Regions from separate parts of the Homo sapiens genome. Here all the other regions are linked to region 1. Evidence: promoter capture Hi-C in 16 types of primary human blood cells and fetal thymus (Javierre and others, 2016). All regions are on one chromosome and are shown on one strand. The core of a region is centred on a gene start or on the middle of the fragment in contact, and the rest is flanking DNA. Distances in the headings are between cores, read along the strand shown. Region 1 holds the start of ING5 (inhibitor of growth family member 5). Region 2 overlaps PASK (PAS domain containing serine/threonine kinase). Region 3 overlaps PASK (PAS domain containing serine/threonine kinase).

Region 1 (3,857 bases), core at 532-3,031:
AGCCTGGCCAACATGGTGAAACCCTGTCTCTACTAAAAATACAAAAATTATCCAGGCGTGGTGGTGCACAGCTACAGTCCCAGCTACTCGAGAGGCTAGGGCATGAGAATTGCTTGAACCTGGGAGGTGGAGGTTGCAGTGTGCTGAGATCATACCCTCCAACCTGGGCAACAGGGTGAGACTCCATTTCAAAAAAAATCAAAAAAAGAAAAAGAAAAGAAATGTTCTCTCTGAGCTGCCCAAGACAGTGGTGGCCATAGGGAGCTACTGAGCACTGGAAATGGGACTAACGCCATTCAATTTTTAATTTTACTTAAATAGTCCCTGTGGCTAGCGCAACCATTCCCCACAGTCTGCCAGGAGGACCCCCGTGCTGCTTTCGCGTCTGCTTTGTTACCCCCTAGACCAGGCCAACCTCCGCCCCCTGCACAGCTGACACAGGCTCCTAAGGGGGGCTGCCTCCTCCAGTCTTGGCCACCCTCCCATCTGCTGTTCACAGTTACCAGGCAATCATTTTAAACCTAACTCTATCTTATGCATCTGATGCTTCCAGCCCCAGTGTTTTCCCAGCTCCCCTAGAGGACAGAGGCACAGCCTCCCGGCTGGCACAGCCTCCCAGACACACACAAAGTCAACCCTCCTTGGGAGGCCAGCCCACTGGCTGGGCACCAGGATAGAGAAGGCCTCCCCTCCAGCGTGCTCCCCAGCTTGACTCTTCTACCCAGGGAACCCCCCACTACTCAGACCCCCAAGAGACAGCGGAGCACATGGGCAGAATCGGGCGTCCCTCTAGGGCAGCGGTCTCCAGCTCCAGGCCACGGCTCACTCGCCACTGTCTCAGCCCCTGGGCGGGTGCCAGGCCGAAGACCATGAGGATCCCCAGTGCAGCGCCCCCACAAGGGCCCTCCAGAGCCACCCGGCACAACCCCAAACACCGCGACCCCAAAGCTGTGCCCATCCCGGGCCGACGTCAGGGGTCCCGCGTGGGGTCTGCCCCTCTACGAGCGGGAGACCCTGAGCAGGCTGCTCGGCAGCGCTGGACCTTCCCTGGTGTGTAAAGTGAGGGAAAGCACCGTCCGCTCAGCCGCTGGGGGCGCCGACCTGCTGCCACCTGGAAACAGCACAGCCCGCCCACCAGGGCCGACTCGGCACCGCCCTCCCCGCCTCCGCGCCGCAGTCCCCAGTGCCGGGGAGAGACGCCCCGCGGCCCGCACGCCCTCCCCAGCCGCGGTCACACAAGAGGCCGGCGCACACGGGCGCACAGCCAGGCGGAGGCCCAGACCCCGGAGCCCCCAAGGCCCGGAGCCCCGCAGCGGGCGCCAGCTCCTCCTGCAGACGGGACAGGGACGGGCGGGACCTGGCGGGGCCGGGGCCGGAGCTGGGGGCGGAGATGAGGCGGGGCCTGGGTAGGGGCGGGACCTAATATGTGGGCGGGGTCGAGGCCGCAAGCCCCGCCCAGCATCGCCAGGCCCCGCCCCGCCGTGACGCACCTGGAATTGGCGCGACCCAGCCGGCGGGACCCCCCGCGCCCGCCCCCCGCGCCCTCCCCTCCCTTGCGGCCCTGCCCCGCCCCGTCCGCGCGCCCCCCGTCGCGCCCGGCCGCGCCCGCCGCCCTCCCGAGCCCACGGGGTCTGCATGCGGTGCCCGGCGCGCGGGGGGCTGCGGCACGGAGGACTCCGCGTGGGCGGCGGGCGCGGGGCCCGTGGGGCGCGCTTACTGTCCAGATAGTGCTCCAAGTACATGGCGGTCGCCATCTTCGTCCGCGGCCGCGCTCGGGGTCTGCGCGGGCGGGCGGTGCCGCGGGAGGCGGGGGCGGGGCGGTGCCAGCGCGCTCACTATTCATGAGTCGCGCGCGCTGATTGGTCGCGCCCGGGGGCGGGGTCGGACACGCCTTTCAGCTTCCGGCGGGCGGCGGGCTGCGGGGCCCGGGCGGAGGTTGTGGCAGCGGCGTCGGGCAGCGAGCAGGACCCAGGGCCGCAGCGGATCGGAGGCCGAGGAGGAGCAGGGGTTCCCGGCCCCACCGCCCGGCGTGCGGCCCAGGGCACCCAGGTGGGCGTCTCCCCTCCGCACCTGTCAGCGACCCCTGGGCCACCAAACGCAAACACGTGGTCCCGGGGACCTCACGCCCGTCCTGACGGCGCCCACGCGACCCCTGCTCCCGGCCGGGTCCCGGACAGGCCGCCACGAGGCCCTCCCTTCCCGAAGGCTCCTTGGGACCTGTCTGGCTCAGCGCCTTTCCCCCGGACCCCGAGCCCCCGGGGCCTCAGCCCGGCCTGAGCCGAGGGCCGGCACCGCGTGGCCCGGGCGAGCTGCCCCTCCCTCAGGGCCTGGGCCCTGGCGCCCTTCCCCCGCCAACGCCGCCCCTTCCCTCCGAGGAAAGCGGCCGCCCCGCCCAGCACCAGTGAGGGCACTGGCTCCTTTGCTGCCACCTCTCGAGGCAGGCAGGACCCGCACCATCTGGATGCCTTGGCCGAAAAGGCACGTGCGGCAGTATGATATAGTTAATAAGATGGCGTGCAAAGGTGTGCCGTAAGATGCATGCAAAAATACTGGAGAAGGCCGGCGCGCTGGCGCACGCCTGTAATCCCATCACTTTGGGAGGCCGAGGCGGGCGGATCACTTGAGGGCAGGAATTTGAGACCAGCCTGGCCAACGTGTTGAAACCCCGACTCTACTAAAAATACAAAAAAAAAAAAAAATTAGCCAAGCGTGGTGGCGCACGCCTGTAGTCCCAGCTACTCCGGAGGCTGAGCCCGGGAGGCGGAGGTTGTAGTGAGCTGAGATCGCGTCTGCACTCCAGCCTGGGCGACAGAGCAAGACTCTGTCTTCAAAAAAAAAAAAGAAAATTTTAAGAAAAAAAAAATACTGGAGAAACATAATTAAAATATGTTTCAGACTCGGCACGGTGGCTCACGCCTGTAATCCCAACACTTTGGGAGGCCGAGGCGGGCGGATCACTTGAGGGCAGGAATTTGAGACCAGCCTGGCCAACGTGGCGAAATCATGTCTCTACTAAAAATACAAAAATTACCCGGGCGTGGTGGCGGGCGCCTGTACTCCCAGCTACTCGGAGACTGAGGCAGGAAAATTACTTGAACTTGGGAGAGGGAGGTTGCAGTGAGAAGAGATCATGTAACTGCACTGCAGCTTGGGTGACAAGAGCAAGACTCCGTCTCAAAATAATAATAATACAAAAACTAGCCGGGCATGGTGGCAAGTACCTGTAATCCCAGATACTCGGGAGGCTGAAACAGGAGAATCGCTTGAGCTTGGGAGGCGGAGGTTGCAGTGAGCCGAGATTGCACCACTGCACTCCAGCCTGGCCAGCAGAGCAAGATTCCATCTCAAAAATAAAATAAAATAGGGCAGGCGCGGTGGCTCACTCCTGTAATTCCAGCACTTTGGGAGGCCAAGGCGGGAGGATCACGAGGTCAGGAGATTGAGACCATCCTGCCTAACACGGTGAAACCCCATCTCTACTAAAACTACAAAAAAATTAGCTGGGCATGGTGGCGGGCGCCTGTAATCCCAGCTACTCGGGCGGCCGAGGCAGGAGAATGGCGTGAACCCGGGAGGCTGAGCTTGCGGTGAGCCGAGATCGTGCCATTGCACTCCAGCCTGGGCGACAGAGCAACACTCCGTCCCAAAAAAAAAAAAAAAAAAAAAAAACTTAGCCGGGCATAATGGCTGGTGCCTGTAATCCCAGCTACCCAGGAGGCTGAGGAAGGAGAATCACTTGAACCTGGTACGTGGAGGTTGCAGTGAGCCGAGATCGTGCCACTGCACTCCAGCCTGGGTGACAGAGCGAGACTCCATCTTAAAATATAAAATAAAATAATTTAAAGTGTTTAAATATT
Region 2 (3,857 bases), core at 29-2,528, 600 kb after region 1:
TGTATCTCTGTCCATATCAACAGTCTCATTTGTTTCTTTTCTATTCATCAAATAATTTGCATATGACTTTAAAACATCTTGATAATTTAGTTTTTGTTAATGTTCCTCTTTGGATCTTAGAGGCCCTCTTGTGAGAAACACACTTGCAGTCAGGACAGGGAGGCTCCAAGTGGCCCTGTTGACTTGGTGCCTACATGGTTAAAGGAACTGGGGCCCGAATCCAGATGCAAGGCTGGGGGCTTCTCTCAGCTTGTGCTGGCATCCCCTCACCTGTCATGTTAACCCTGCGTTATTCACAGCTCTGCATTGCCAGAGCCCCTGAGAATAGAGCAGTTAGGAACCTCTGCACCACCTGGATTTTGGTTGAGTGGGATGGCATCTTGAACTCCAAGCTTTCATTTCAGAGGCAATGAATGTTTCCTGCAGCTTCTGTCCAAGCACAGCTGGGCCCTGCACTAGAGGTTCCTGGGCCGCCACCTGCCCAGTCAGAGGCTCTGCGGGGGGGTGGTGAGCACCCAGGAATCTGAGATGTGCTCCACTTCATCCCAATCTGGACCTACCATCTGTGTTCTTTGTGTCCCCAGAACTCATGAGCCTTGTGTCTGGGCTGCTGCAGCCAGTCCCTGAGAGACGCACCACCTTGGAGAAGCTGGTGACAGACCCGTGGGTAACACAGCCTGTGAATCTTGCTGACTATACATGGGAAGAGGTGTTTCGAGTAAACAAGCCAGGTGAGGCTTCTCAGCATCCCTCCACCCCACATGACTTCACTTGGAATAACGAGGTCCCCAGGCTGCCTTCCTAGGTCAAAAGGAGGAAAAGGAGGCTCTCTCCCCCATGCTGTCTTGGACACAAATGTCAGGGCCTATAGCTGACCTGTCACCTGTGAGAGGGGGTTTGATTCTGTCCCGAGGCCTCTGGACACCACTGGGGTTCAGGGTGTGGCTTTGGACCTTGGAGGGTGGGCAGGTGTCATGGGAGCTCCTGGCAGAAGGGGTCGGAACCCTCAAAGATGGTTTGAGGAATGCAGCTGGTGATGGTCTGACTGGGCCGAAGGGGAGGATGAGGCCACAGATGCTGAGAGTGATTCTCTAGCAGCCGGCGGGGCCGAGGGCTCTTCAGACAAGGCTCTGGCCACAGAGCCAAAACCACTGCTCAGAGCATTTGGACCAAGCTGCGGTTGATGGCCCTGGGCTTAGATCCCCACCTTGGCAGGATCTGTACTTCCGGGACATTGCCAGTTGGATTTCTGAGGGCCTCACCTTAGGCTTTTGTTCTAGGACTTCTTCAAGTGAGAAGCAAAGTATTTTAGAACCTTAAGTTGTTAGCACGTGATACAGTTACCTTCTTGTTTCTTCAGAAAGTGGAGTTCTGTCCGCTGCGAGCCTGGAGATGGGGAACAGGAGCCTGAGTGATGTGGCCCAGGCTCAGGAGCTTTGTGGGGGCCCCGTTCCAGGCGAGGCTCCTAATGGCCAAGGCTGTTTGCATCCCGGGGATCCCCGTCTGCTGACCAGCTAAACACCAATTTCTTCCTGCTTTTCTCCACTTGGTTTGGAAAATCACACAGTTTTCAGGCTCCATCTGTTTGGAGAAAATACATTCTGAAGCATCCCCAATTCACCTTCTAAAAACTCATGTGCAGGTTTGATAAACACCAGAACAGAAGACAGTGATGCTGTATTATTTTAGATTTATTACATAGATTTGGAATTCACTTTTTTCATGACCTAGAAAAAAACATTCCAGTGTTCAACTGTTTTATATTATTAAAGGGCTTTTAATTTGTGAACTTCTGAAGGCATGAGTGTTTTCTCTTTCTACTTTTGTATATGTGCATGTTTTGTTTCCTCTGACTTGGTATATGCTCATCTGAGTGACGGATATGTGAAATTTGTAGAACTGGTTAGTCAAATGGCCAGACTATTTCATTAATTTATTTCCTCAAATGCTTTTCAAATTAAAGCACCTTTGTTAGTAAACAGTTATCCTGACTTGGATGTTGTGAACTGTTCCCGTGTGCTAAGTGTGAGAAATACCTGGTTTCCTCATTTTTCCATGTGTGCACCCCACTTGCCACAGTTGGAGAGAAGTCTAGCCTTGGCCATTCTGGGGTTCCTTTTACAAGCAGGCCCTGCCAGGGGTGGGCCTAGGGCTCTGAAGCTTGCTCCATCTGGTAAGACGGGGGAGGGTGGCTTCCTCAGGGACCTCCCTTCTGTCTGTAGCAAGACTCTGCTGTCAAACACGTGGCTGGCTCACTGCCAGCAGTCCCCAAATATCCCATGGCCAGCCAGCTCCCACCTCTGTCCACATGAGGGGCTTCCTGGCCCAGCCCCCACCTCTGGTCTGTGTGAGGGGCTCCAGCCCTGTATTCCTCCGAGCTGCTCAGGTTCCAGGGTGTTTGTCAGATACTCAACTGGCTGCTTCCCTCCCTTAGACTCCAGTCCATCCCCCTCAGACAGACTTGGCTAGGTCAAGTACTTAGGATTGTTTTATTTCATGTCTGTGTTAGAGAGGAGGGAATAGCTAGAGGTGAGAGCAGAACCTTTCATTTTTTTCCCCTGCTGAGACAGTAGGAAAAAAACCAAAAACCTAAACCCCTACCCTTTTCCCACATGTCATCACTTGCAGACGGTTTTTCCACATTCTGAGACTCCTGCCCAGAACCCTCTGGAAGCTGCCTGGGAGCCAGGCTGCCTCCTGCGTGGTTCTGAGCTATTTCTAGTGGTTATTTAGGAGGCACTCAACTGTTTTGGGATGATCAGAGTTAATTTTAGTCCCATCTAGTAGGATATGGGCTATTGCCATCCCTTTCTTCAGAAAGTGCTGCCTGAGCCTCGCTGCCACCACAAGTGACTGATGGAGTTGGTGGGGGAGGACCCTCCTCTATCAGGGACATTCAAGGTACAAGGGTTTTACAGGTGTGTATTAAAGTCAGTGATGTTCACTCTTCAGAATTCAAAGAGTTTTCTGATGTTTTAAGAACCCCTACCTTGTAGTGTTTATGGTGCTTATAACACAGAGGATGTTATAGAATGGTGTTTGTTTGTTTGTTTATTTATTTAGAGACAGAGTCTTATACTGTCGCCTGGGCTGGAGTGCAATGGTGCGATCTCAGCTCACTGCAACCTCCGCCTCCCAGGTTCAAGCAATTCTGCCTCAGCCTCCCAAGTAGCTGGGATTACAGGTGCCCACCACCACGCCTGGCTAAATTTTTGTATTTTTAGTAGAGACGAGGTTTCACTATGTTGGCCAGGCTGGTCTCAAACTCCTGACCTCATGATCCGCCCGCCTCGGCCTCCCAAAATGTTGGGATTACAGGCATGAGCCACTGCGTTCGGCCACAATGGTGTTTGCAGACAGGTGTTTAATGGGTTGAGAATGCATAGTCTGAGCTTTCTAAGAACTGTTACTTCTTTATAAGAAAAAATAATTAAAGCTCATCTGACTTCATGGCAGTGGAAGGTCTGGTATTTTGCAAACGTTCTTTGCAGAAAGAACCCAGAGAGGAAAGTTCTGAGGCTGAGGCTGACAATTTTTCCACTCCATTTTTTTTTTTTTTTTTAAGATGGAATCTTGCTCTGTCACCCAGGCTGGAGTGCAATGGTGCAATCTCGGCTCACTGCAACCTCCGTTCCCTGGGTTCAAGCAATTCTCCTGCCTCAGCCTCCCGAGTAGCTGGGATTACAAGTGTGCGTTATCACGTTACCTGGCTAATTTTTGTATTTTTAGTAGAGGCAGGGTTTCACTATATTGGCCAGGCTGGTCTCGAACTCCTGACCTCAGGTGATCCACCCATCTCAGCCTCTCAAAGTGCTGGGATTACAAGCATGAGCCACCGTGCCCAACCCACTGCATAT
Region 3 (3,857 bases), core at 636-3,135, 560 kb after region 1:
TTATGCTGTTTGTGCTTCCGAGTGGACCTGGTGGTTGCCTAAGTGGATTCTGGGGACCATGTTCAGACACGCAGTGAGAGTGTGTGTTAGCTGTGCAGACTGACTTAATCCTTAGATCTTTTTGCAGGAGTTGAGGGCAAGGGCTGTGTGCTTTGCCTGTTTCAGAAGGTGGACTCTGGCAGCTGTGTGAAGTCTAAAGCTTCGCTTCGCTTCTCTTTTCAGAAGACAGATGGAGCTCCTATTGTCTATCATCACTGGCTGCCCAGAATATTTGTACAAGTAAACTGCACTGCCCTGCTGCCCCTGAGCACACGGACCCGTCCGAACCGCGGGGCAGTGTGTCCTGCTGCTCCCTGCTGCGGGGACTGTCCTCAGGGTGGTCCTCACCTCTGCTTCCGGCCCCTGTGTGCAACCCTAACAAGGCCATCTTCACGGTGGATGCCAAGACCACAGAGGTATTTGCTTCTCTTTTAGATCCAGCTGTGTAGATGTGGATTTGTGGTTTGTGCCTTAAACCTGGGATTTGTGTGTTTTAATGCAATTAGAAAAACATTTGGGCACTTCGGGAGGTGGGAAGTTTGCTTGAGCCCAGGAGTTCAAGACCAGCCTGGGCAACATAGCAAGATCCCATCTCTACAAAGAAATTAGCCAGGTGCGGTGGCACACACCTGTAGTCCCAGCTACCAGGGAGGCTGAGGCAGGAGGATCACTTGAACCCAGGAGTTCAAGGTTGCAGTGAGCTCTGATTGCGCCGCTGCAGTGAGCTCTGATTGCGCCACTGCACTCCAGCCTGGGCAACAGAGTGAGACCCTGTCTGTCAGGAAAAGGCTGGCTTCTGCATGGTCGTCCTGGGCTGTTCTGGGCAGCTGGTGGAGCTGCTGGGGATGTCTGCATCCTTGCTCCTCTTTGTGATTCCTCAGATCCTGGTTGCTAACGACAAAGCTTGCGGGCTCCTGGGGTACAGCAGCCAGGACCTGATTGGCCAGAAGCTCACGCAGTTCTTTCTGAGGTCAGATTCTGATGTGGTGGAGGCCCTCAGCGAGGAGCACATGGAGGCCGACGGCCACGCTGCGGTGGTGTTTGGCACGGTGGTGAGTGGATGCGGGTGCAGCGTTCAGTCTGGCCTCAAGACCAGCAGTGTGTGGCAGGAACAGCTCAGTGTTCCCTACCAGGAGCTCTGCTGGGGGTTGGGTGGCACCAGGACATCTCAGCTTCTTCAGCTGAAAATGTCATCCCAGGCGCCGTTTCCCCGCTTCAGCTGCAGTGGGGGTGGGGGCCCTTTAAGAACGAATCATCGCAGGAATGGACACTGTGGCTGTGGCTGGACTCCTGGGAGGTGTCGTGGGTGGCCCTTGCTTTGTCTGAGGGCTGTAGCTTCACTAATGTTTTGCAGTCCTGCCGGGCAGCACATCAGATGCTCAAGAGTAATATGGTTTTATTGTCTATTGATTTTTACATTCTGTTTGGTGTTTGTGGGAGCGGGCGGGGGTGTTGGCCTGGAAGCATTTCCCTAGACAGTGTTGATTCTCTCACCTGTGCCATGTGTCCAACCTGGATGTTGACAGGTGAGCTGAGTTGGATGTGGAGGACTGAGCCCAAGGCATGGAAAAAGCCCAAGGCATGGCTGATTGTAGGGTTTCCCCTCGTCAGCCGGTCGGGGACTGGGGGAGTAGCGTTGGAGGGCAGTGGAGGTTGGGGTATGATCTGAGGCTCTAGTAGTCATCCAGATCCTCCAGGTTGCCTGTTTCCCACCTAGTGTGTGGCTTTCACACAGAAGACCCCATTGCTTGAACTGAACTGATGTCACAGGCTTAGGACCAATTGTATCAGAAAATCACTGGTTCAAGAAACTGACTACTAAGAAGAAAAAAACTAAGATATTCACCATGTGTTGGTGTCTGTTTCTTTAAGAAATAACAGATACTGCTTTTTTCACCCTGCAATATTACCATGAACTGAGAATGAAATCTACTCTCTTGATAAAACTTGCACTTGGAGATTTTAATGTTCAGTATGGGAAATCTTGTTTGTGCTTTGGTAAATTTCTGAAATGAAAATCAGGTAAGCAGAAGTTGAAAACGTTGCAGTGCCTGGAGTTTGGGCCTCCTGGAGGCAGGTGCCCCACCCATACTGGTCTTTTGGGTTCATGGCATGCAGGTGTGAACCTGTCTGTTTCCACAGGTGGACATCATCAGCCGTAGTGGGGAGAAGATTCCAGTGTCTGTGTGGATGAAGAGGATGCGGCAGGAGCGCCGCCTATGCTGCGTGGTGGTCCTGGAGCCCGTGGAGAGGGTCTCGACCTGGGTCGCTTTCCAGAGCGATGTGAGTGTGCAACTTTGCCTCATGTCTCATGGACGCTGGAGCCGGCGTCGTTCTCCTCTTCAGCAAGTGCTGGTCCCTGTCTCATTCCTTTGGGAAGAAAGAGAGGATGAGGAGCCTGGAGGGTCTGCCCAGTGGTACCCTCGCTGATTGCGTGTGCTTGGGCAGGGAACGAACTTCCTATACTTCAGTTCCTCACCTGTGAACTGGGGCATAATCATAACTCCTCATAAGATTGTTTCAACATTTAAATGAGATAATATATGTAAACCCCCCAGGATAGTAGCTGGCATTAGAGACAGCCCTCATATGTGAACTGGGATGTTATTAATGAGCTGTGGTGTGGGCCAGGCTCCTGAAGAACAAGAAGGCCCACAATTTAGGTACGTCTCTGGTAGAAGGAGACAGATGATGAAGCTCTTATCAAATTCATGTGTATATGTCTCTTGCCCTTCCGATGGAGAAGTCATGTTGGGGTCTTGCTTTTGGCTTGAACATATTGAAGCTTAGTTAAATTTACAGCTGGAGCACAAGAAGCTTTTATGATAAGCACGGGGCTTTTCCTCCAGGGCACCGTCACGTCATGTGACAGTCTCTTTGCTCATCTTCACGGGTACGTGTCTGGGGAGGACGTGGCTGGGCAGCATATCACAGACCTGATCCCTTCTGTGCAGCTCCCTCCTTCTGGCCAGCACATCCCAAAGGTAGGGCTCCTGACCTCCCGCACTGTGTGATGGGGTGGAGTTCTTAGCTCTGAATCCATAACTGGAGACGCAGACCAAGGGTTTCTGAAGGCAAGGGTGGCCTTAGGGGTGGGACATGCTCAGTTTTGAGCTTCCTGTGCGCTGAGGCCTTGACCAAGGGCCGGAGCCTATGTGGTCTCCCAGCTGACCACTCTTGTCCCCTGAGTCTTCTCCCAGGAGCTGGGCCACCCACAGAGGTGGATGCTGGGACGCTGCCCAAGGCTGAGGGGTGGGAGGTAACATCCACAGCTGCGCAGCTGGTGTAGTGCTGCCTGTGGGGCCAGTATCCTGGTGCCAGATCAAGGATGGCACAGTTGCCAGTGGCGTGGCTGAGCCCCGAGCCTGAGCCCCACAGTCCTCCCTCCCTCCCTCCCTGCTGGTGCCCGGCCCCTCACTGGGGTGTCTCACTTGCCCTGGGGTTGCTGTGCCTGGGGCGGCTCTGGACACTGAGTCCTCCCCACCCACAGAAGGGCTCTTTCCTGGGCCAGCTGGGCCTGGGAGGAGAGGGAAGGCAGAGCAGTGTGGGTGTGAGATGTCCTGGGGACCTTCCCCGATGACGTGGGGTAGAAGTCGGGTCGGACGCAGCACAGACTCAGTGCTCTGTCCACGTGAAACACGGCTTAAGCCAAACGACAAGCCTTTCTTTCAGAATCTCAAGATTCAGAGGTCTGTTGGAAGAGCCAGGGACGGTACCACCTTCCCTCTGAGCTTAAAGCTGAAATCCCAACCCAGCAGCGAGGAGGCGACCACCGGTGAGGCGGCCCCTGTGAGCGGCTACCGGGCATCTGTCTGGGT

The links. The method cuts DNA at HindIII sites, captures the fragments that hold promoters and counts their contacts. A CHiCAGO score of 5 or more calls a contact.
Region 2: a contact is called between a fragment that was not itself captured here and the fragment with the promoter of ING5 in region 1, in 1 of 17 cell types (neutrophils). The highest score is 5.7, in neutrophils.
Region 3: a contact is called between a fragment that was not itself captured here and the fragment with the promoter of ING5 in region 1, in 1 of 17 cell types (neutrophils). The highest score is 6.8, in neutrophils.

The regions. Positions count from the first base shown.
Region 1 is chr2:241,699,963-241,703,819 of GRCh38, reverse strand. It overlaps ING5 (inhibitor of growth family member 5), which reads right to left and starts at 1,781. Exons shown (of 8, transcript NM_032329.6): 1 at 1,718-1,781. The coding sequence starts at 1,754. RefSeq lists enhancers at 663-1,292, 1,531-2,363 and silencers at 1,018-1,577, 1,762-1,925, 1,668-2,487. The HindIII fragment of the contact is 17,390 bases long and covers 1-3,857 here.
Region 2 is chr2:241,104,227-241,108,083 of GRCh38, reverse strand. It overlaps PASK (PAS domain containing serine/threonine kinase), which reads left to right. Exons shown (of 18, transcript NM_015148.4): 17 at 585-731; 18 at 1,361-1,985. The coding sequence ends at 1,518. Among named protein-coding and RNA genes, the nearest start is that of MTERF4, 3.9 kb to the right of the region's middle. The HindIII fragment of the contact is 1,768 bases long and covers 395-2,162 here.
Region 3 is chr2:241,137,119-241,140,975 of GRCh38, reverse strand. PASK (PAS domain containing serine/threonine kinase) reads left to right here. Exons shown (of 18, transcript NM_015148.4): 3 at 223-455; 4 at 921-1,091; 5 at 2,182-2,322; 6 at 2,889-3,023; 7 at 3,712-3,857. Among named protein-coding and RNA genes, the nearest start is that of PASK, 10 kb to the left of the region's middle. RefSeq lists an enhancer at 622-1,122. The HindIII fragment of the contact is 1,882 bases long and covers 945-2,826 here.